7 separate regions of the Homo sapiens genome follow, and regions 1, 2, 3, 5, 6 and 7 are each linked to region 4. Evidence: promoter capture Hi-C in 16 types of primary human blood cells and fetal thymus (Javierre and others, 2016). All regions are on one chromosome and are shown on one strand. The core of a region is centred on a gene start or on the middle of the fragment in contact, and the rest is flanking DNA. Distances in the headings are between cores, read along the strand shown.

Region 1 (2,700 bases), core at 51-2,550, 1.3 Mb after region 4:
AGCCTCGCGGAACCATGAACAGAGGACACAGCTGACATGTGCCTGAACCCATGAGAACTGTGAGATAATAAGGTTGCATTATTTTAAGACCTAACTTTGTGACCACTTGTTATACAGCAATAGAAAATGAATATATTTTCTATGACAGTGGGCTTGGGGGAAGGGCAATACACTTATTCTCATCTCTACCTTTAACCTTCTCCTGGGTAATGTTATCACTTTGGACCTACAGTCCACAAATTACAAGTGAGAGAAAGAAGGATCTTGACAGTCCAGTTCAGTGGACTTGGAAACATTTTTATTTTTTTATTTTTTTGAGATGGAGTCTCGCTCTGTTGCCCAGGCTGGAGTGTAGCTAACTCTGCTCATTTAATCTCCACCTCCCAGTTCAAGTGATTCTCCTGCCTCAGCCTCCTGAGTAGATGGGATTACAGGTGCACGCCACCACGCCTGGCTAATTTTTTTGTATTTTTAGTAGAGATGGAATTTTGCCATGTTTGTCAGGCTGGTCTTAAACTCCTGACCTCAAGTAATCTGCCTGCCTCGGCCTCCCAAAGTGCTGGGATTACAGGTGTGAGCCACTGCACCCAGCAGGGCAATCCTTGCAAAATTTGAAGTTGTAAGAAGTTCTGCTGGGCTCAAATGTCTCCTCAAATAACCCAGACAAGAGAGGAGGAGTTCAGTATGGCTGCTAATTCCTTTCTTCCATTCTGAGTCTTCCCTGCCATCTTTCCTATTGTCATGTCAATCTACTTACTTGAGGCAATAATTTCAATGTTTTATCATGGCCTAACAAGGGTCACCAGCTTTCCAGCCTGCAATATCTAGGCCCTACTAAATCCCCCTAGTCACTGGAGTAATATTCCCTTCCTCTAGGGCATTATTTTTGACTGTTACAAGGATTAGGAGGTGTCAGTAGCATTTAGTGTCTAGGGATAGAGGAGAACAGTCTTGCACGTTGTAGTGGACTCAGATGTCAGCAGAACCCCTGTTGACTTACATTGCCTTTAACCAATGCCACACTTCAGATTTTGATACTTGCAGGATCCTATTTCTGGCACTAAATGCTATATAGGGTGAGAGGCAGGGGTTGCAGGGGTGGCAGGGGTGATAAGAAATAAAATACATTCCAAAGAGCAGTGGCTTAAATATGTTTATTTCTCAATAAATGTCCAGTGAGGAAGTTCAAGTTTGGTAAGGCTCTCCATAATGTCAGGAGCTCAGGTGCCATAGGCACTGCTTTTCAATTTTCTTTCTTTCTTTTTTTTTTTTTTTTTTTTTTATAGACACAAGAGAGTTTCACAGTGTTGCCCAGGCTGACTGTGAACTCCTGGGCTCAAGTGATCCTCCCACCTCAGTCTCCCAAAGTGCTGGGATTAGAGGTGTAAGCTACCACGCCTGGCCCATGCTTTTCAATTTTCTATAGGACTCTTATGTTATTGTGCTGTAGGTACTCATTAGATTTTTGAAAAAGTAACCACCTGTTAGGTAAGTTGCAAATGTTTTCCCTTGTGAATGATGTCTTCTGACTTTGTTTAGAGCATTTTAAGCCATGTAGAAAATCTTAATTTTTATGAAGTATATATATATTTTTTTTTCTTGAGATGGAGTCTCACTCTGTTGTCCACGCTGGAATGCAGTGGCACGATCTTGGCTCACTGCAACCTCCGCCTCCCGAGTTCACACGATTCTTCTGCCTCAGTCTCCCAAGTAGCTCGGATTACAGGCACCCACCACCATGCCTGGATAATTTTGGTATTTTTTAGTAGAGACGGGGTTTCACCATGTTGGCCAGGCTGGTCTCGGACTCCTGAACTCAAGTGATCTGCCCACCTTGGCTTCCCAAAGTGCTGGGATTACAGGCATGAGACACTGCACCCAGCCAAATACATTTTTATTTTTATTGAATGGATTCTAAGGGTTTTTTCTAAAATTATTCTGATATTGCTATTACTTAAAAAATACCATTTCTTCAAGAACATTTATGATATCTTTTTTTTTTTTTTTTTGAGATGGAATCTCGCTCTGTCACCCAGGCTAGAGTGCAGTGGCGCAATCTCAGCTCACTGCAACCTCCGTAGCTGGGATTACAGGAACCCATCACCACACCCGGCTAATTTTTGTACTTTTAGTAGAGACGGGGTTTCACCATGTTGGACAGGGTGGTTTCCAACTCCTGACCTCAAGTGATCCGCCTGCCTCGGCCTCCCAAAGTGCTGGGATTACAGGTGTGAGCCACCGCACGTGGCCAATATCATTTTATATCATTAAATCTTTGGTGCAATTTTAACTTGGTGTAAGGTATGAGGTATAGATCCAACTTTTCTCCCACAGCTGGCTACCCTGTTGTCTCAGCATCATTCATCTGTTGCCCCATTGATTTGAGATGCTGCCCTTAAAGTGAGGATTAGGGACTAAACTTTATCAAATGGTTTAATGATATTTTCTCAGAGAATTATATGTGCTTTTCTTTAATATGCTAATATAGGAGGCTACTGTACTAGATTTCCTAACAGGGAACAATCATTGGTTTCCAGTGATAAACCATACTTGATCATAATGTAGTATTCTTTATTAATGTATTAAGGAATTTTACTTTTGACTATACAGGGAAGTTTGATCAGTTTTCTGGTTTTGGTGCTATTCTTATTTAAGCTTATAAATAAGTCTCATAAAATGATATCTATCTTTTTCTACCAT
Region 2 (2,700 bases), core at 5-2,504, 1.2 Mb after region 4:
TCATCCATGTTCACTGGTTGGGTTTTTGAATTGGTCAATATTCTATACTCATGAATAACATCCTACATAACTGATTATCCTTATTTAGTGACTTACCTAGACCCGAATAAGTGCAAATCCAACATGTTTAGTTTAGAGATATAGTAAGAGCAGAAAAACAGGTTTGGAAGGGAATTTGCCATTTCTAACTTCTTCAAGTCAACACACTCTGTCATAAAATATTGAAGAGATGGACTTTCAAAGACCTGTATATAGTTGAAAAGATGATTTGGTTAGCAAAAAGCTTGGGGAGAAGTTCTCTAAGATATAATTCTGCATGTATAAGGCAGAATGCATTTCCGTAATTAACATACACTGCATGTACATCTTAATCTGACAGTGAGAGATTCACAATGACTAAGTTGAGACATTATGATACATTATTATCACATTTACCTTTGTTTCCCCATTCCTAACAAAGATATCTTAGTTTCCATATAAAGGCTTTCACAGACATGTCAACACTCAGTGACGTTCCTTAGCATCACTGATTTGTTTAAAATATCAAAATTATTGTAATAAGACCAGCTGTGTTGATATACGGAATAATTCTAAAAGCAAGAATACAAAATAAAATAATCAGGTGGGGCGTGGTGGCTCACTCCTGTAATCCCAGCACTTTGGGAGGCTGAGGCGGATGGATCACCTGAGGTCAGGAATAGGAGACCAGCCTGGCCAACATGGTGAAACCCTGTCTCTACTAAAAACACAAAAATTAGACAGGCGTGATGGCACATGCCTGTAAGCCCAGAAACTCCGGAGGCTGAGGCAGGAGAATCACTTGAATCTGGGAGGCGGAGGTTGCAGTGAGCCAAGATCATGCCACTGCACTCCAGCCTGGGCAACAGAGTGAGACTCTGTCTCCAAAATAATAATAATAATAATAATATAAAAAATAAAACAATCGGAGCCTTGTATAAAAAATCTGAAAGCAACCTAATGCTTTCTCCACCCTAAAACCCTGCCCCAGCCAATGAAAGATGTTTTCTTATTTTCAAAGAAAAAGAAAAAAGAAAATTTCTTTGGAAAGAAGTAGAGAAGTGAACATAGCCTCTCCCTTACACTGCTAAAATATCAGGAGACAAGACCAGAGGAAGATGGATGAGATTAAAAAAAAAATCTTAGAGACAACAGATAGATCAGATGTGTTCAACAAAAAGACCAGAAATTTATTTTAAGGAACCCTCTAAAGTTCGGCCAGCTCTCTTGCTTCTTAGGCTAACTAATCATGAAAGGTAACAATATTACCCACTTTCTTTAATTACTCTATTTATTCTTTACTCTGGTACTCACCCTCTTTACTCTTGGGAAAATACTCTAAGATGGGGCAGTTTGTCAGTTGCACTTTAAATAGTGTGGAAATGTAATGGTATACATTTTTTAATTTCTTGACACTCAAACCCAAGAGGTTTTATTTTTATTTTTTATTTGTATAGCACTTTTAATCAAAATAAAAATCCTTTGTCTAAAATATTCTGCATATGTAAAATATTGGCCGGGCGTGGTGGCTCACGCCTGTAATCCCAACACTTTGAGAGGCCGAGGTGGGCGGATCACGAGGTCAGGAGATCGAGACCAACCTGGCTAACATGGTGAAACCCCGTCTCTACTAAAAATACAAAAAATTAGCCAGGCGTGGTGGTGGACGCCTGTAATCCCAGCTACTCGGGAGGCTGAGGCAGGAGAATGGCGTGAACCCGGGAGGCAGAGCTTGCAGTGAGCCGAGATTGCGCTACTGCACTCACTTCAGCCTGGGGGACAAAGTGAAACTCTGTCCAAAAAAAAAAAAAAAACTATGCTAATTTTATTACTTTATTTTAAAACTGCATTTTTTGGTCCATAACTGGCTAAGATTTCAGGAACCAGAGCCACATCTAGATATCACTTCGAAAAATTACATGATATCAAAAATACCTGGCACTAGTGATAACCATCACTTTAAATGATTCGAAGCCAAATACAAAAATCATATGCTATCTATTTACTTCCCATGTGCATAGCATGCTGTTGTCTGGTTTTGGCTTTTAATGTCAAGTTCATGCATATGAACCTCCAAAATACCTGACAGATTTAGACAAGTCAATTAAACAACCTTTTGCATTAAAAAAGTCAGAAAGCAGGTTAAACTTATGTTATAGAATTATCAGTAGAAATTTTTAAAATCTGCTGGCCATGATGTAAGCTTAAATTTGTTTCTATTGACACAGAGCATTTACTCCTAGATTTCCGAAAATTGATTCTATTCTCTTAATCAGGATGTATTCCCTTACACTTGATCAGTTACATTTCATTTTTTCTCATTTCTAATATCCAAGACTATACTTACGCATGCAAATTAAAGTGAAAATTTCACAGTCATCTGGTATATTTGGCCTCTGCGGAAACCTAATCCAAAAAAAGGAAAGAAAGAAGAGCCAGATTATTTTTATCTTAAAGTACATTTCAGGCTAATATTAAGTAAAGTGATTGCCCACAGCAACCTAAATTAATTGTATTTTTAATATTAATTGTAGCCTCTCTTCTTTACTTTGCATTGCAAAAATCACTCCAGGTTTCTGTTTTATTCTACATTGCAATGTCATTGCACACCTGCTAAATTAACACCTTAAGTACATTTAACCATAACTGGTTTTATATCCTTGTTAGTAATGATAGTTAGTG
Region 3 (2,700 bases), core at 39-2,538, 1.2 Mb after region 4:
TTGTTCTCATTTAGATGGTCCTCATTTATTTCCACAAGAGGAAACAAAGCTTCATTCCTTAAGTGCAGCCTGTGCAAAGCGAACTCCTTCCCAAGAGCACAGTATGAGGAAGTAAAGGGTAACTTTACAGTGAAGAAACCTGATCAACACTCTCTCTGCCAGGGGATCAAGGTCAATATCAACAGTGATAAGTTGGTATTATGTCATGACAAAAATGGCACTTGACCTCTGTGGTCTTCCTCCCAAAAACTCAAAATCCCAGAAAATCATAAGAAGAATATCAAACAAATCTCAATTAAGCGATAGTCTAAAAAATTCTTGACTGGTACTCCTCAAAATTGTTAAGGTTATCAAAAACAAGGAAAGTCTGAAAAACTGCCACATCCAAGAGGATTCTAGGGAGATATGATACTCCTCAAAATTGTAAAGTTATCAAAAACAAGGAAAGTCTGAAAAACTGCCACATGCAAGAGGATTGTAGGGAGATATGATACTCCTCAAAATTGTAAAGTTATCAAAAACAAGGAAAGTCTGAAAAACTGCCACATCTAAAAGGGTTCTAAAAAATAGTTTTTTTGAAAAAGAGAGAGAAAGCAATATGAACACTTGTGGCGAAATGTTAACAAACGTTAAATATGGATGATGGGTCACCCCACTATTATTATTTCTCATATTATTTCCTGTCCCTTTCTATACAGGTAAAATATATCAGAATTTCAATTATTTTTAATGCTTCAAAATGAACTCCAATTTAACCCCAACAGATTCTAGCTTTTCCCTCTTTTTCACCCTCCCATCTGTCACACTGACAGTTTTCTGAAGGGACCAAGCAGATGCACATTCTCATATTCTCCAAGCAGCCTGGGAATTCCTAAAGTTATTCCAGTAACTACCACTATGATTTGAAAGCTTTCTCTCATCCCCTTGTTTTGGTATTTATTTCTCCTTTGTGCTCTACACATTTTACTTTGCATTATAGTTTTGTGCCCATTTTTCTTTCCCTGAGTGCTCAATATCTCAAGATACTGAAGACAGGGACCATGTCTTGGTCATCATTCCATTCCTCTACACCCGCACCAAGCACTGCGACTCGCTAATAGTATGACTCAATGAATTTATTATTTGATTGTAAGAGAAAAGAGGTTCAACATAAAGTCCTTTTCTAAGCCAGGCATGGTGGCGCACACCCGTAGTCGAAATAATCAGAAGGTTGAGGCAGAAGGATTGCTTGAGCCCAGGAATTCGAGTCCAGCACGGTCAACATAGTAAGACACTGTCTCAAGAAGAAGCAAAAAGAAGGAAGAAGAAGGAAGAAGGAGGGAGGGAGGGAGGGAGGGAGGAAAGGAAGGAAGGAAGGAAGGAAGGAAGGAAGGAAGGAGGGAGGGAGGGAGGGAGGGAGGGAGGGAGGGAGGGAGAGAGGGAAGTAGGGGAGGGGATAGGGAGGAGAATTTGTAAAACAAAACAAAAAAAGTGAATATTAGAAAAAAAATTTAAATCCTTTTTTATAGTGCAACGAATCAGTATGAACAAAATCTGAGAAATGATTAATGAAATTTAGCTTTGAAATTACCAATGAGGTTTAAGAAGTTCCAGGAAAATTATGAAAGCAGGTAACAGAATACAAAGAGTTAAGGAGCAAAGTTAAGAAAGAGATAATATAAGCTTATTCATTTAGACCAGGAGTGGAGCTCCTCATGCTGCTATCATATTTCACCCCAAAACTGAATGGAAACAGAAAACCTACAGAGGACATACATGTAACTATGAAAATGAAGAACAGATGCATTTAAAAAGAACTATCAGTCTAGAAACTGACTTAAGAGAAAAAGCTGATTGAGTTAGACACCAAGAAGTACAAAACAAAGTCAATATTATAGTAGGAGCCACAACAGTAACTACAAGTAAATATCTAAAATGTATTGAGCACTAGCAAGTGCTGGCACTGGTTAAGGCTTTTTTCATAGTATCTCATTTAATCCTCCTAACAGTCCTATGAGGTACTCATCATTATCATGCTCAGTTATAAACAAGGTAACTAGTGTTAAGATCACAGAACTGGTAAATGACTGTTGACCTTTTTGCTAGAATGTGGTAAGGGCGCCATCATTTTTTATCGCAGGTCAGTAATTCAAGAATGGAAAGGCTGGACACAATTAGCAGAAAGGTCCACTGGGACTGGACCCGCTAGAGCTGTAGACCTGCCTCTGGGACACTGACCTGCACAAGCTGCCTGACCAAATTCACTCCTTAATGTCCACAATAGGAACTGGTAAGGCAGGGAGAGGGGACAGCAGTCCTAAGCACCAGGAGCCAGAAGTGAGAGTAGCGCAAGTGGAGCACTCAAAGGCAGAATTGGTCATTAATGGCCACCACCACTGCGGGTATGTGAGCCCTACCAAACTCTGCAGGGGAATGGGGTCTTCCAGAACAGGCTCAGAATTACTACCTATTCATACCAATATAGCCTTCGTCCTACACATCTAGGAGAACATTGCTTGAGAAACCCAGGTTTATATGAGTTATTTTGCAATTAGTGGCAAAAAAAAAAAAAAAGAGTGATAGAAACTCACAAATAGCAAAGTGAATCATTTGATATTTTGTAACACTTTATCACATACATCAAGGGGTTTGATTTCCTAACCTCCATTTTATTTCTGAAAGTAACAAGTGATACATTAATTTTTTATTGATTTGAAAATT
Region 4 (2,700 bases), core at 56-2,555:
GGTGAGACCAGCTTGGGCAACACAGCGATACCCCCATCTCTATTACCCTGGCCTGGTGACCTATAGTCCCAGCTACTCAGGAGGCAGAGGCAGAGGCAGGAGGATTGCTTGGGCTCAGGAGTTCAAGGTTGCATTGAGCCATGATCAAGCCACTGCACTCCAGCCTGGGCAACAGAGTGAGACCCTCGACTCAAAAAAAGAAAAAAAAAAAAAAACTTAAAAAAAGCTTCTGTTTTTGTCTTTGTGATAATTACATGATTAAAAAAGGGAAAAAATAGAAAAAGAAAACCTCTTTCTGTATGTGATCGGTGTATCTTATCTCAAAATATCCTGGATTTTTGACACTTTTCTACTAGGAAGGTTACCAATCTATTATTTCAGGCAGGATATTTCGTTTCTTAGGCCTGTTTATTTCTAAAATGAAAAGTGGATGAGTACTAAATTAATCGATGTTGGACGATTTTCCAGCATGTTAAAAAACTGTCTTCCAGGACAGGCTTCTGTAATTCAAAAGTAAAGAAACTATATAAGCAGTGTCACAGGGTACCAATAACGCATCATTAAAAGCATTCGGTATTTAATTTTTGTCACCCAGTTTGTACCTGAGCTTAACGTAGTGTTTTTGTCCTAAGACTTTAAAACGGTAACACTTGTAAAGTCTATTTTAAGACTTCCCATGGGGTTGTTACTTGCTCCTCACTATAATCCATTACAACAGCAACCATTTTTTTTCATTCTACCAACAAGTTGGGACTTCAAGTGGTAAAGGGACAGAAACAGTCTGTGAACCATCGTTAAACTTTTTGCTATCCTCGAACGAGCAAATTATGTGAATAAAACAAGTACAAAGATTTGCAAAACTGTTGTCGCCGCCAGGACGACTGTTCATCTTATTCACAAACTTTAACACTTATGCCATAGGGAAATAGTAAGTAAGAATCAAGAGCGTACATTTTTTTTAAGACAGAAAAGTTCGGAATAATCACACTGGGTTTTTATTTGGGTTTTGCAGGCAAAATGGAAAGGACCCCTGGGCCCGCAGCAGCGGGAAGGCTCGAGGCGCCGCCGGCGAACTCTGGGTCGTTCCGGGGCCCTCATCTCCTCGCCCGCCCCCAGGATCCCGCCGAGGCCAGGCCTCCCAACCTCCCACCGATCCCCGACCGCGGCCTCTCCGCGACCCCGGCTCACGCCCGCGGCGGCCAGCTTGAGGATACGGTTGATGTAGTTCTCCAAAGCGGACGTCATGCTGTTCGGCCCGGCGGTTCCGGGTAACGCAGCGGTGCCGACAGCAAGCAGAACTGAAAGGGCGCGCCAGAACCCGGCAGCGGATAGCGCCTGCGGGTCGCAGCAAATATCGTGAGAGTTGCTGCTCCGCAGCCCTGTGAGTCGGAAATTGGGACGAACTGGCCAACCAAACAGAAGCCGCACAGCGGTGACGAGAGAGTGCGCGTGCGCAGTGTGTTTTCTCTGTAATTCTGGGCCGTGTTCCGGAAGCCTCGTAAGACAAAAGCGAACGAGAGGCGGAAAAAAGGAAGACGCTTCCTGAAGTTGGGGGTATGAGACAGAAGTTGGGGGTATGAGACAGAAGTTGGGGGAGAGTGGGTTTCCAATCCGAGTAAAAGGCAGTGTGGTGGAAGTTAACAAGAGAAAATGTTGAGACGAGGTAGAGCAGGCAGGAATAAACGAAGTAAGGTGTTTTTATTAGGAGTGAAGGAGAGAGACGAGTGCTGTTGTGTGAAACGTAGGTGCGGGTAGTTGAATCCCTAGTTTTCTGCAGCAGAAGCCGAAAATAACGCTAAAAATAAGTTCAGTTGCCCGGGACAGAGTTGCGCACGTTATAACCACACGGTGTACGCCTCTTAAGAACTCAGCAGTGAAATACACTTTCGTATGTTCTGCTTTTGTCTCTAAAAGTGTTCCAAAATGGAGGTGTTTTTACTTTTTAAAGAAACTAAATGCAAATAGGCAAAGGTGTGTGACCATCCCTTAGAAAACGAATGTCCACGCTTCTGCCACGCCAGGATGGTCTACCTTTCTTCAGGGTGAAATTAGTAAGTAAAAGGCTGCTGCAGCACCGAGAAAGGACCGATGCAGGAAGGATGCAGGAAGGCACCAAACTTGGTTCTAATCTTGGCTCTGCTAACAAATTGGTGTCATTGCACAGGTCACTTCAATTCTTCTGGGCCTCAGTTTCGTTAGATAGTCCCATAGGTATCATTTCAGATATTTCCCAATGCGATACTGTTCCCACTTCATTTACTGTTGCCCTAACTTGAGAGAGCTTGAAGTTAGAAAGAGATTTATACACAAAACACCAGCAGGAGCGATTTCCCTTTTTTGCAAAATATCTTTATAATTTCAGTTAAACATGTATTTTCTTAAGATTTGTGGCTTTGTAATAACTCTTGCAATGTCAGCAGTTTTCCTCGGAAAAGGAAGCATTTCTTAATTAGAGCATACCCACAAGATACTCCCAAATAGTTAATATTTTATATTCTGGAACTTATTCCTATCTGTTTGAAATCAAATGTAGTCAGGAATTAGATTGTGAATGTCTCATATTCTCAGGGTAACAAATGAAAGTGTCTTCCGCTAATGAAAGAACAAAGATAATTGTGTGATTTGCAAATGTTAGGTGTTGAACCAAAACCCAAAGACTAATTAATGATTAACGAGGTGTTAGGAGTTTTGTTAAAAAAA
Region 5 (2,700 bases), core at 3-2,502, 1.2 Mb after region 4:
TTGCCCCTGCCTAAGAGATTTGTGGAACTTTGAACTTAAGGGAGATAATTTAGGGTATCCAGCAGAAGAAACTTCTAAGCAGCAAAGCATTCAAGGGTGACTTGGGTGCTGTTAAAAGCATTCCATTTTAAAAGGGAAGCAGAGCATAAAACTTCAGAAAATTTGCAACCTGACAATGCCAATAGAAAATCCCATTTTCTGAGGAGAAATTCAAGCCAACTGCAGATATTTGCATAAGTAATGAGGAGCCGAATGTTCATCTCCAAGACAATGGGGAAAATGTCTCCAGGGTATGTCAGAGACCTTTGCGGCAGCCTCTCTCATCACAGACCTGGAGGTCTAGGAGGAAGAAATGGTTTCATGGGCAGGGGCCAGGGTCCCGTGCTGTGTGCAGTCTAGGGACTTTGTGCCCTGCATCCCAGCTGCTCCAGCCGTGACTGAAAGGGGCCAGTATAAAGCTCAGGCCATGGCTTCAGAGGATGCAAGCCCAAGCCTTGGAAGCTTCCACATGGTGTTGAACCTGCAGATGCACAGAAGTCAAGAATTGGGGTTTGGGAAACCACGTAGATTTCAGAAGACGTATGGAGATGCCTGGATGCCCAGGCAGAAGTTCACTGCAGGTATAGGGCTCTCATGGAGAACCTCTGCTAGGGCAGTGCAGAAGGGAAATGAAGGGTCAGAGCCCTCACATAGAGTCCCTACTGGTGCTCTGCCTAGTGGAGCTGTGAAAAGAGGGCCACTGTTCTCCAGACCCCAGAATAGTAGCTCCACCTACAGTTTGCATCATGAACCTGGAACAGCCACAGACACTCAACACCAGCCCATGAAAGCAGTGGGAGAGAGGCAGTACCTTGCAAAGCCATGGGGGCAGAGCTGCCCAAGGCCATGGGAACCCACCTCTTGCATCAGTGTGACCGGGATGTGAGACCTGGAGTCAAAGGAGATCATTTTGGAGCTTTAAAATTTGACTGCCCCACTAGATTTTAGACTTGGTTGGGCCCTGTAACCCCTTTGTTTTGGCCAATTTCTCCCATTGGAATGGCTGTATTTACCCAACATCTGTACTAGGACGTAATTAGCTTGCTTTTGACTTTACAGGCTCATAGGCAGAAGGGATTTGCCTTGTCTCAGATGTAACTTTGGACTGTGGACTTTTGGGTTAATGCTGAAATGAGTTAAGACTTTGGGGGACTGTTGGGAAGGCATGATTGGTTTTGAAATGTGAGGACATGAAATTTGGAGAGGCCAGAGGTGAAATGATATGGTTTGGCTCTGTGTCCCCACCCAAATCTCATCTTGAATTGTACTCTTCTAATTCCCACGTGTTGTGGGAGGGTGTCAGTAGGAGATAATTTGAATCATGGGGGCGGTTTCACCCATATTGTTCTCTTGGTAGTGAACAAGTCTCACAAGATCTGATGGTTTTATGAGGGGTTTCTGCTTTTGCATCTTCCTCATTTTCTCTTGCCGCCACCATGTAAGAAGTGCCTTTTGCCTCCCCCCATGATTCTGAAGCCTCCCCTGCCATGAGGAACTGTAAGTCCAATTAAACCTCTTTTTCTTCCAAGTCTTGGGCATATCTTTATCAGTAGCATGAAAACAGACTAATACATGGCTGAATAACATTTCTGCCTCCCCACATTCAAGCAGAGAGCCCTGCTTAATGCCTCAAAGGAGGCATGTGTCAGGGTGGAAAAAGTAGTAGCCTAGGAACCTTTCAGGCTTTTTCAAAACAAAATACTAACTATTCATAATAGGTCCAACTGGAAACCACCCAAATATACATCAAAAGTATAATAGATAAATAAAATGTGATCATACAATGGAGTACTATGCAAACCAATGCAACGAGAACGAACAAACCTTTGAGGAGGGATTTGGGTCAGGGTTAGTGATAGGAAGGGGCATATGGAAGGCCTCTCAGTACTGGTAATGTTCTGTTTCTTGATCTGGGACACGGTAATCAAATCTATGTGTCACTTAATGAAAATTCACCAAGCTTTAAACTTAGAATATCTGCTCTTTTCTGTATGAATGTTACATTAATTTTAAAGTCTACTTTTTAAATTTTCCATTCTCATTTTGGGGAGGGAAAGACATTAGTAAAGTATATGGTGTGTCAGATAATGGTAAGTGCAACTAAAAAATAGTAACAAAGCAAGAAAAAGGAACAGTCAGTGCCAGGTATATAGATGGGTATGGAAGGGGATTTACAATTTTAAAGGGTCATGGAAAGCTGAACTTAGAAGGTGACATTTAATTAGAAACCTGAAAAGAGTATGGGTATGCAGCTTTCTAAAGGAAAGTACACAGAATAGATAGTTCAACCTATGCTTGTATACTGCAAATTATATCACAAAGAGAAAGTAATCCACCTAACTTCTACCATCTTTTATTTTTTTCAGTGGAATTATAACAACCTGGACCATTATAACATTTTTTAAAATGTTGTTTCCCCTGTGTGCATACAACAGAACAAAACAAAACAACACTAACCCCTTAGAGGAAGGGGATTGATTCCTAGGCACAAGCAGAGCTAGTCAAAAGTAAAAGGAATGAGTTTACCCAGAATAGAAAGAAAACGGTCCAAGCAGGATAAAGAGGAAAGCTGAAGGAGAAATTACTCATTTTTACTCATTCACTTACTCACTCACTCTACAGAGAAATCAAAGGTTAATCACCGGCCGGGCGTGGTGGCTC
Region 6 (2,700 bases), core at 53-2,552, 1.2 Mb after region 4:
GCCTCAAGAGAACTAAAATCAAGTAACCACAGCTGGAAAAAGGAGGTAAATAACTTTTATAAGAGGTGCTGTGTGGTCTCCCTATCACTGATGTTTTAACTCTATCAGAAGATGACTATAAAAAAGGACATTGGGTTTATGTGTTTAAGGTTAGCCAATTAAAAAAAAATATAGCAATTAATCTTGATGTATAATTAGCAGTCATGAGAAACATTACTAAAGTTACTAAAATGCCTGATAAAAATAAGAAAGATTAAGATTTTCGTCCTACAAATATGAATCCAACAATAAATATGCTTATTCATTTTACATCCTGACAGTGATGGTCATTTTATATACATTTGAATCAAAGCTCTAGTGTAATGATCAGAATCAAACTATAGGTTTGTACAACAAACAGGGAGGTACCCAAGCCAGACATATCCCTCTGTAGAAAAGCTTCTTTAGGCAAACCACAGACCTTCCTGTGTGGTTTTGGTCTGTTCACATGATTGGCAAAAGGAACCACTGGAAAATAAGCAAAGAAAGTCATAAAAAATAGTCATGAATGGACTAGTGTGGGTTGTCCCAGAGGCCAAAAACAAAAAAAAAAAAACAAAAAAAAAGTGGAGAAGTTCTTTAAGGAATTTCTTAGCTGTAGCATACAGCTGCAGTTCTAGGTAAGCAAAGAAGATCACAAATTTCCATGGTACTACAAAACAAATCATTCTCAATGTTTTCTAGCAGGAGCTGGCAAATCCTTTTTATAAAGGGCCAAATAGTAAACAGTTTAGATTTTGTGGGACCATCTGTTCTCTGTCACAACTACTCTATTGTTTCAGTGCAAAAATAGTCATAAACAATACATAAATTAATGTAGCCATGTTCCAATAAAACTTTATTTATAAACTTTGAAATTAAATTTCTTGTAATGTTCACATATCATGACGTATTCTTTTGAAAATTTTTCAGCGATTTAAAAATGTTAAAAAAAAAGTTAGCTTATAAATCTCACAGAAACAGGCAGCCCATGGGCTACAGTTTGCCAAACCCTGTTCAACAATATTTACTGTGGTTGATTTGACCTTTCTCTGCAAGAGCTCTAATCTTCAATTAGGTCTCTGCCATTGACAAGACTCACGAAGATAATGGAATCCATCAACAACTGCCTGATTGCATCAGGGTCAGAAATTCAAGAAAAGTTTCATCCCAATTCCCTTCATTTCTGATGATACTATGAACAATACCTCATTCCCTATCACATTAGAACTGGTGATAAATGCTCAATTTCTGAGAAATTGTCAACTACTTTCCCAGATAAGGAAAACCACATACCTCCAATCCACATACATCTCTAGCCCTTGAAGATTATATAAAAATGGAAATCATGGGCTAAGATTTCCAAGTCTCTTCAATTATATTATAAGCCAGGAAAACTTTCTATAAAACATACTCATAGTGTAGAACACAAGTAATAGCTAGTTTGTCTGAGAAAATCTGACCCTGTTCACCAACAATTGCTGAAAGGGAATTCTTGAGAAACAAGAAACAGACTACAATCCTAACTGCACAGTTAATTAATTTGGTTAGACATTTCACAACAGTATCACTTCATTTATGAAATGAAGAACTTAAAATTATTTCTGAGGTTTTTTTCTAGCTCTAAAATACAACAATTCTGTAATGAGTTACGCTGATCATGATACCTACCTCATTAAGGGTTTCGGCAGATTTCTATTAAAGTTCACATGGATGACTTTTTTTGTCATTAGCCTTCAGATAAGAAGCAGATAATTTCCTCTCTGCTTTTTTGTCTCTGGTTTTTTGAAAGGCTATTGAAAATATATTTCTAATCAAGACAACTGCTACATTCTTAAAATTTTAACACAGATTCTTACAGTTTTAACACAGATATAGGTGATTCTAAGAGAAAATGTAGTGAAGTGTATTACTTGGAAAATGTTTCTAGAGACAGACATTTGTGCCTGTGCAACTATAGACTTCAAATTCATAGAGACAGAAAGTAGAATGGTGATTGCCAGAGGCAGGAGGAAGAAGAAAATGGGGAGTTGTTTAATGGGTACAGAACTTCAGTTTCGTAAAATGAAAAGAATTCTGAAGACTGGTTGCATGGCAATGTGAGCATGAGCTCCTAAGAAGACAGTCAGCCTGTCCTGTGAAGCTTTGAAGCCAGGCATTGACTTCTCTCCAGCTATGAAAGGCCTAGATGGCATCTTCCTCCAATATAACACTGTTTTCACCTACACTGAAAATCTGTTGTTGAGTGTAGCCACCTTCATCAGGTATCTCAGCTAGACCTTCTTGATAATTTGCTGCAGCTTCTACATTAACACTTGTACTTTACCTTGCACTTTTATGTTATGCAGATGGCTTCTTTCACTAAACCAAATAAACCAACCTCTGCTAGCTTCAAAGCGTTCCTCTGCAGCTTCCTCACCTCTCTCAGCCTTCATAGAACCCCTGAAGAAATTAAAGAGAGTTCCTTGCTCTAAATTAGACTTCGGCTTAAGGGAATGTTATGGCTGGTTTGATTTTCTATCAGACCACTCTAACTTTCTCCATATAAGCAATAAAGCTGTTTCATTCTGTTACATTTGTGTGTTCATTGGAGTAGCACTTTACATTTCCTTCAAGAATTTTTCCCTCGCATCCATATCTTGGCTAACTGGCACAAGAGGCCTAGCTTCTGGCCTATGTCAG
Region 7 (2,700 bases), core at 69-2,568, 1.3 Mb after region 4:
AAAAACTCATATATTTTAAAAGTAATTATCTTTCTAAACAAATAATTGCTTAAGTTATTTATAGTTGAGTGTATACCTGCGGTCCATTTCCTCAGCTAGTTTTGAAAAGGTACACACAAGTAGTGCCCCTGGAGAAGCCTGACGTAGATCATTCTAGAGTTACTCAGGAATTATTGAAGACCTTCTTCTTCTTTTTCTTTTTCTTTTTTTCTTTTTTTTTGTTTTTGAGATGGAGTCTTGCCTTGCTCTCTTGCCAGGCTGGAGTGCCGGGCTGCCATCTCTGCTCACTACAATCTCTGCCTCCCAGGTTCAAGTGATTCTTCTGCCTCAGCCTCCTGAGTAGCTGGGATTATAGGTGTGTGCCACCACACCCGGCTAATTTTTGTATTTTTAGTAGAGACGGGGTTTCACCATGTTGGCCAGGATGGTCTCGATCTCCTGACCTCATGATTCACCAGCCTCAGCCTCCCAAAGTGCTGGGATTACAGGCGTGAGCCACCACGCCCAGCCAACACTTCTTTTTCAACCCCTCCTCCGTCCCGAACGTGCTATCCTTCCTAATTTCCTTCCTACCAACCTCACCAGACCCACCTCTGCCACTGCCCCTGAATGCATATGTCATTGAAACACACAAAGCTGCATATATATCATATGCTCTCAGGCTTCTGTCAAAGCTTTCTGGAATGTTGTTTGCTACCTATCCTTTAAAATTCTGTTATCGGTTTTCTTTGAAACTCTCATTGAATCCTCTAGCTAAGCTAATAATTTCTTCTAGATTACCATAGAAACTTTTCCATTGATTTTTGTTGTATATACCAGTGATGAGGTATACAGATTTTATCATCACTAAATCCTGGATTCTGATCTTCGTTCTAGCTCTAGTTAACCTTAAGGAACTTACTCTGCAGGCTTGCATTTCTTCATCTATACATTAGGGATAACAATAGTACCACCTTTGTAGGGCTGCTGTGAGGATTTAACAAGACAATGCAGGCAAAGTGCTTAGCACACAGTGCAGGCCTTAGTAAAAGTCTCAATAAATATTAGCTATTATCATCATATTATAATACCAATTTGGTCTTTAAGGACATGTCTGGCACATACAATGTCTGGCAAATAAATGCTTAAAAAAGCTTTGTTGGAATGCATATTGATTAAACGACACTTTTATTTCGCATCCCTAAATGAGAGCTGAAAAGTTGATTTAGCAACACATACGGGATTTAGAGATTGTTCTAAAATGTGGACTGGGGACTCCAGAATGGGAAAGTGAACAATTTTTTCCCAAAAACCTCAAAATCATACCAATATCTCCAAGTCTTTACTACTCCATATTCAGTCACCACTTAAATATCTCCCTAGTTGATTTCTTACTCTTTAATTCTCCTGTCACTATAAGTTCAAGCCTTTAGTATCTTCATACCATGTCCCAAACAAAGTACAGGGGACAGGGAGTATTCAAAATGATCCTTTAGGGTGAAGCAAGGAAATACTAAAGCTTGTATTTTCTTCTGCTTTTTTTTTTTTTTTTTTTTGGAGACAAGACTTGCTCTGTCACCCAAGCTGGAGTGCAGCAGCGTGATCATAGCTCACTGTAGCCTCCATCTCCTGGGCTCAAGTGATCCTCCCACCTCAGCCACCTGACTAGTTGGGACTACAGGCGTGCAACACCACACCTGGCAAGTTTTTAAAATTTTTCGTAGACAGGGGGTTTTGCTATGTTGCCTAGGCTAGTCTTGAATTCCTGAACTCAAGTGATCTTTCCTGCCTCAGCCTCCCAAAGTGCTGGGATTACAGGCAGGAACCCCCATGCCTGGCCTCTATTTTCATTTACTTATTTGAATTATTGTTACACAACATTTCAGGCATACAAAAAAGCATGGTTTAATTCTTCCAGTTCCCATTCCCTTTTCTTCTTCCTTCAGGTAACCACCAACCTGAATCTCATGTTTATCATTTCCACGTATGTTGCTTCTTTTTCAACACAGGAACACTCCTTTTTATCTGCCTAATGTGGTACCTAACTTTAAAAATATTTATGAGGCTGGGCATGGTAGCTCACGCTTGTAATCCCAGCACTTTGGGATACTGAGGCGGTCGGATCACCTGAGGTCGGGAGTTCGAGACCAGCCTGACCAACATGGAGAAAACCCGCCTCTATTAAAAGTACAAAATCATCTGGGTGTGGTGGCACATGCCCGTAATCCCAGCTACTCAGGAGGCTGAGGCAGGAGAATTGCCTGAACCCGGGAGGCAGAGGTTGCTATGAGCCGAGATCGTGCCATTGCACTCCAGCCTGGGCAACGAGGGCAAAACTCTGTCTCAAAAAAAGAAAGAAAGAAAGAGAGAGAGAGAAAGGAAGGAAGAAAGAAGGAAAGAAAGAAAGAAAGAAAGAAAGAAAGAAAGAAAGAAAGAAAGAAAGAAAGGAATTTTTTTGCATATTTTTGTAAACAACATGGATAGAGATCTTTAGACTAATTACTGTCTTTTTAAAAATCTCCCTATATGGCAGTGTAAATTGTGGGGCATAAATGAAAAGATAAGTCAGACTCTTGACCTGGAAAGATGAAGCAACACAATGCATAGATTTGCTGGTAGGGAGTGAAAAGACAGATCCAGTATCTTTACTTTTTTTACCTTTAATGTCTGACAGTACTTTTAACTTTTATTTGGACTCAGTAATAGCAGATAGCAGTGTAG

Evidence for each region. Contacts are between HindIII fragments. The CHiCAGO score rates a contact against its expected background, and 5 or more counts as called.
Region 1: a fragment that was not itself captured here is called in contact with the fragment with the promoter of LSM8 in region 4 in 2 of 17 cell types (activated CD4 T cells and total B cells); the score reaches 5.6 in activated CD4 T cells.
Region 2: a fragment that was not itself captured here is called in contact with the fragment with the promoter of LSM8 in region 4 in 2 of 17 cell types (naive CD4 T cells and activated CD4 T cells); the score reaches 8.0 in naive CD4 T cells.
Region 3: a contact is called between a fragment that was not itself captured here and the fragment with the promoter of LSM8 in region 4, in 2 of 17 cell types (total B cells and total CD4 T cells). The highest score is 9.8, in total B cells.
Region 5: a contact is called between a fragment that was not itself captured here and the fragment with the promoter of LSM8 in region 4, in 1 of 17 cell types (total CD8 T cells). The highest score is 6.1, in total CD8 T cells.
Region 6: a contact is called between a fragment that was not itself captured here and the fragment with the promoter of LSM8 in region 4, in 4 of 17 cell types (non-activated CD4 T cells, total CD8 T cells, activated CD4 T cells and 1 more). The highest score is 6.0, in non-activated CD4 T cells.
Region 7: a contact is called between a fragment that was not itself captured here and the fragment with the promoter of LSM8 in region 4, in 5 of 17 cell types (naive CD4 T cells, naive CD8 T cells, total CD8 T cells and 2 more). The highest score is 9.7, in naive CD4 T cells.

What each region holds. Positions count from the first base shown.
Region 1 is chr7:116,925,790-116,928,489 of GRCh38, reverse strand. No RefSeq gene overlaps it. Among named protein-coding and RNA genes, the nearest start is that of ST7, 26 kb to the left of the region's middle. The HindIII fragment of the contact is 2,714 bases long and covers 1-2,657 here.
Region 2 is chr7:116,945,187-116,947,886 of GRCh38, reverse strand. LOC105375465 (a long non-coding RNA gene) reads right to left here. Exons shown (of 3, transcript XR_927895.3): 2 at 2,366-2,424; 3 at 1-245. Among named protein-coding and RNA genes, the nearest start is that of ST7, 7.0 kb to the left of the region's middle. The HindIII fragment of the contact is 1,938 bases long and covers 286-2,223 here.
Region 3 is chr7:116,966,972-116,969,671 of GRCh38, reverse strand. All of the region lies in intron 1 of ST7 (suppression of tumorigenicity 7), which reads right to left. Among named protein-coding and RNA genes, the nearest start is that of ST7-AS1, 14 kb to the right of the region's middle. RefSeq lists an enhancer at 1-302. The HindIII fragment of the contact is 753 bases long and covers 912-1,664 here.
Region 4 is chr7:118,182,769-118,185,468 of GRCh38, reverse strand. LSM8 (LSM8 homolog, U6 small nuclear RNA associated) reads right to left here and starts at 1,305. Exons shown (of 4, transcript NM_016200.5): 1 at 1,215-1,305. The coding sequence starts at 1,245. It overlaps LOC105375470 (a long non-coding RNA gene), which reads left to right and starts at 1,501. Exons shown (of 4, transcript XR_927904.3): 1 at 1,501-1,554. The HindIII fragment of the contact is 4,305 bases long and covers 229-2,700 here.
Region 5 is chr7:116,990,218-116,992,917 of GRCh38, reverse strand. All of the region lies in intron 1 of ST7 (suppression of tumorigenicity 7), which reads right to left. Among named protein-coding and RNA genes, the nearest start is that of MIR6132, 29 kb to the left of the region's middle. The HindIII fragment of the contact is 1,498 bases long and covers 504-2,001 here.
Region 6 is chr7:117,007,153-117,009,852 of GRCh38, reverse strand. All of the region lies in intron 1 of ST7 (suppression of tumorigenicity 7), which reads right to left. Among named protein-coding and RNA genes, the nearest start is that of MIR6132, 12 kb to the left of the region's middle. The HindIII fragment of the contact is 1,723 bases long and covers 441-2,163 here.
Region 7 is chr7:116,855,514-116,858,213 of GRCh38, reverse strand. No RefSeq gene overlaps it. Among named protein-coding and RNA genes, the nearest start is that of CAPZA2, 5.7 kb to the left of the region's middle. RefSeq lists an enhancer at 666-1,323. The HindIII fragment of the contact is 365 bases long and covers 1,136-1,500 here.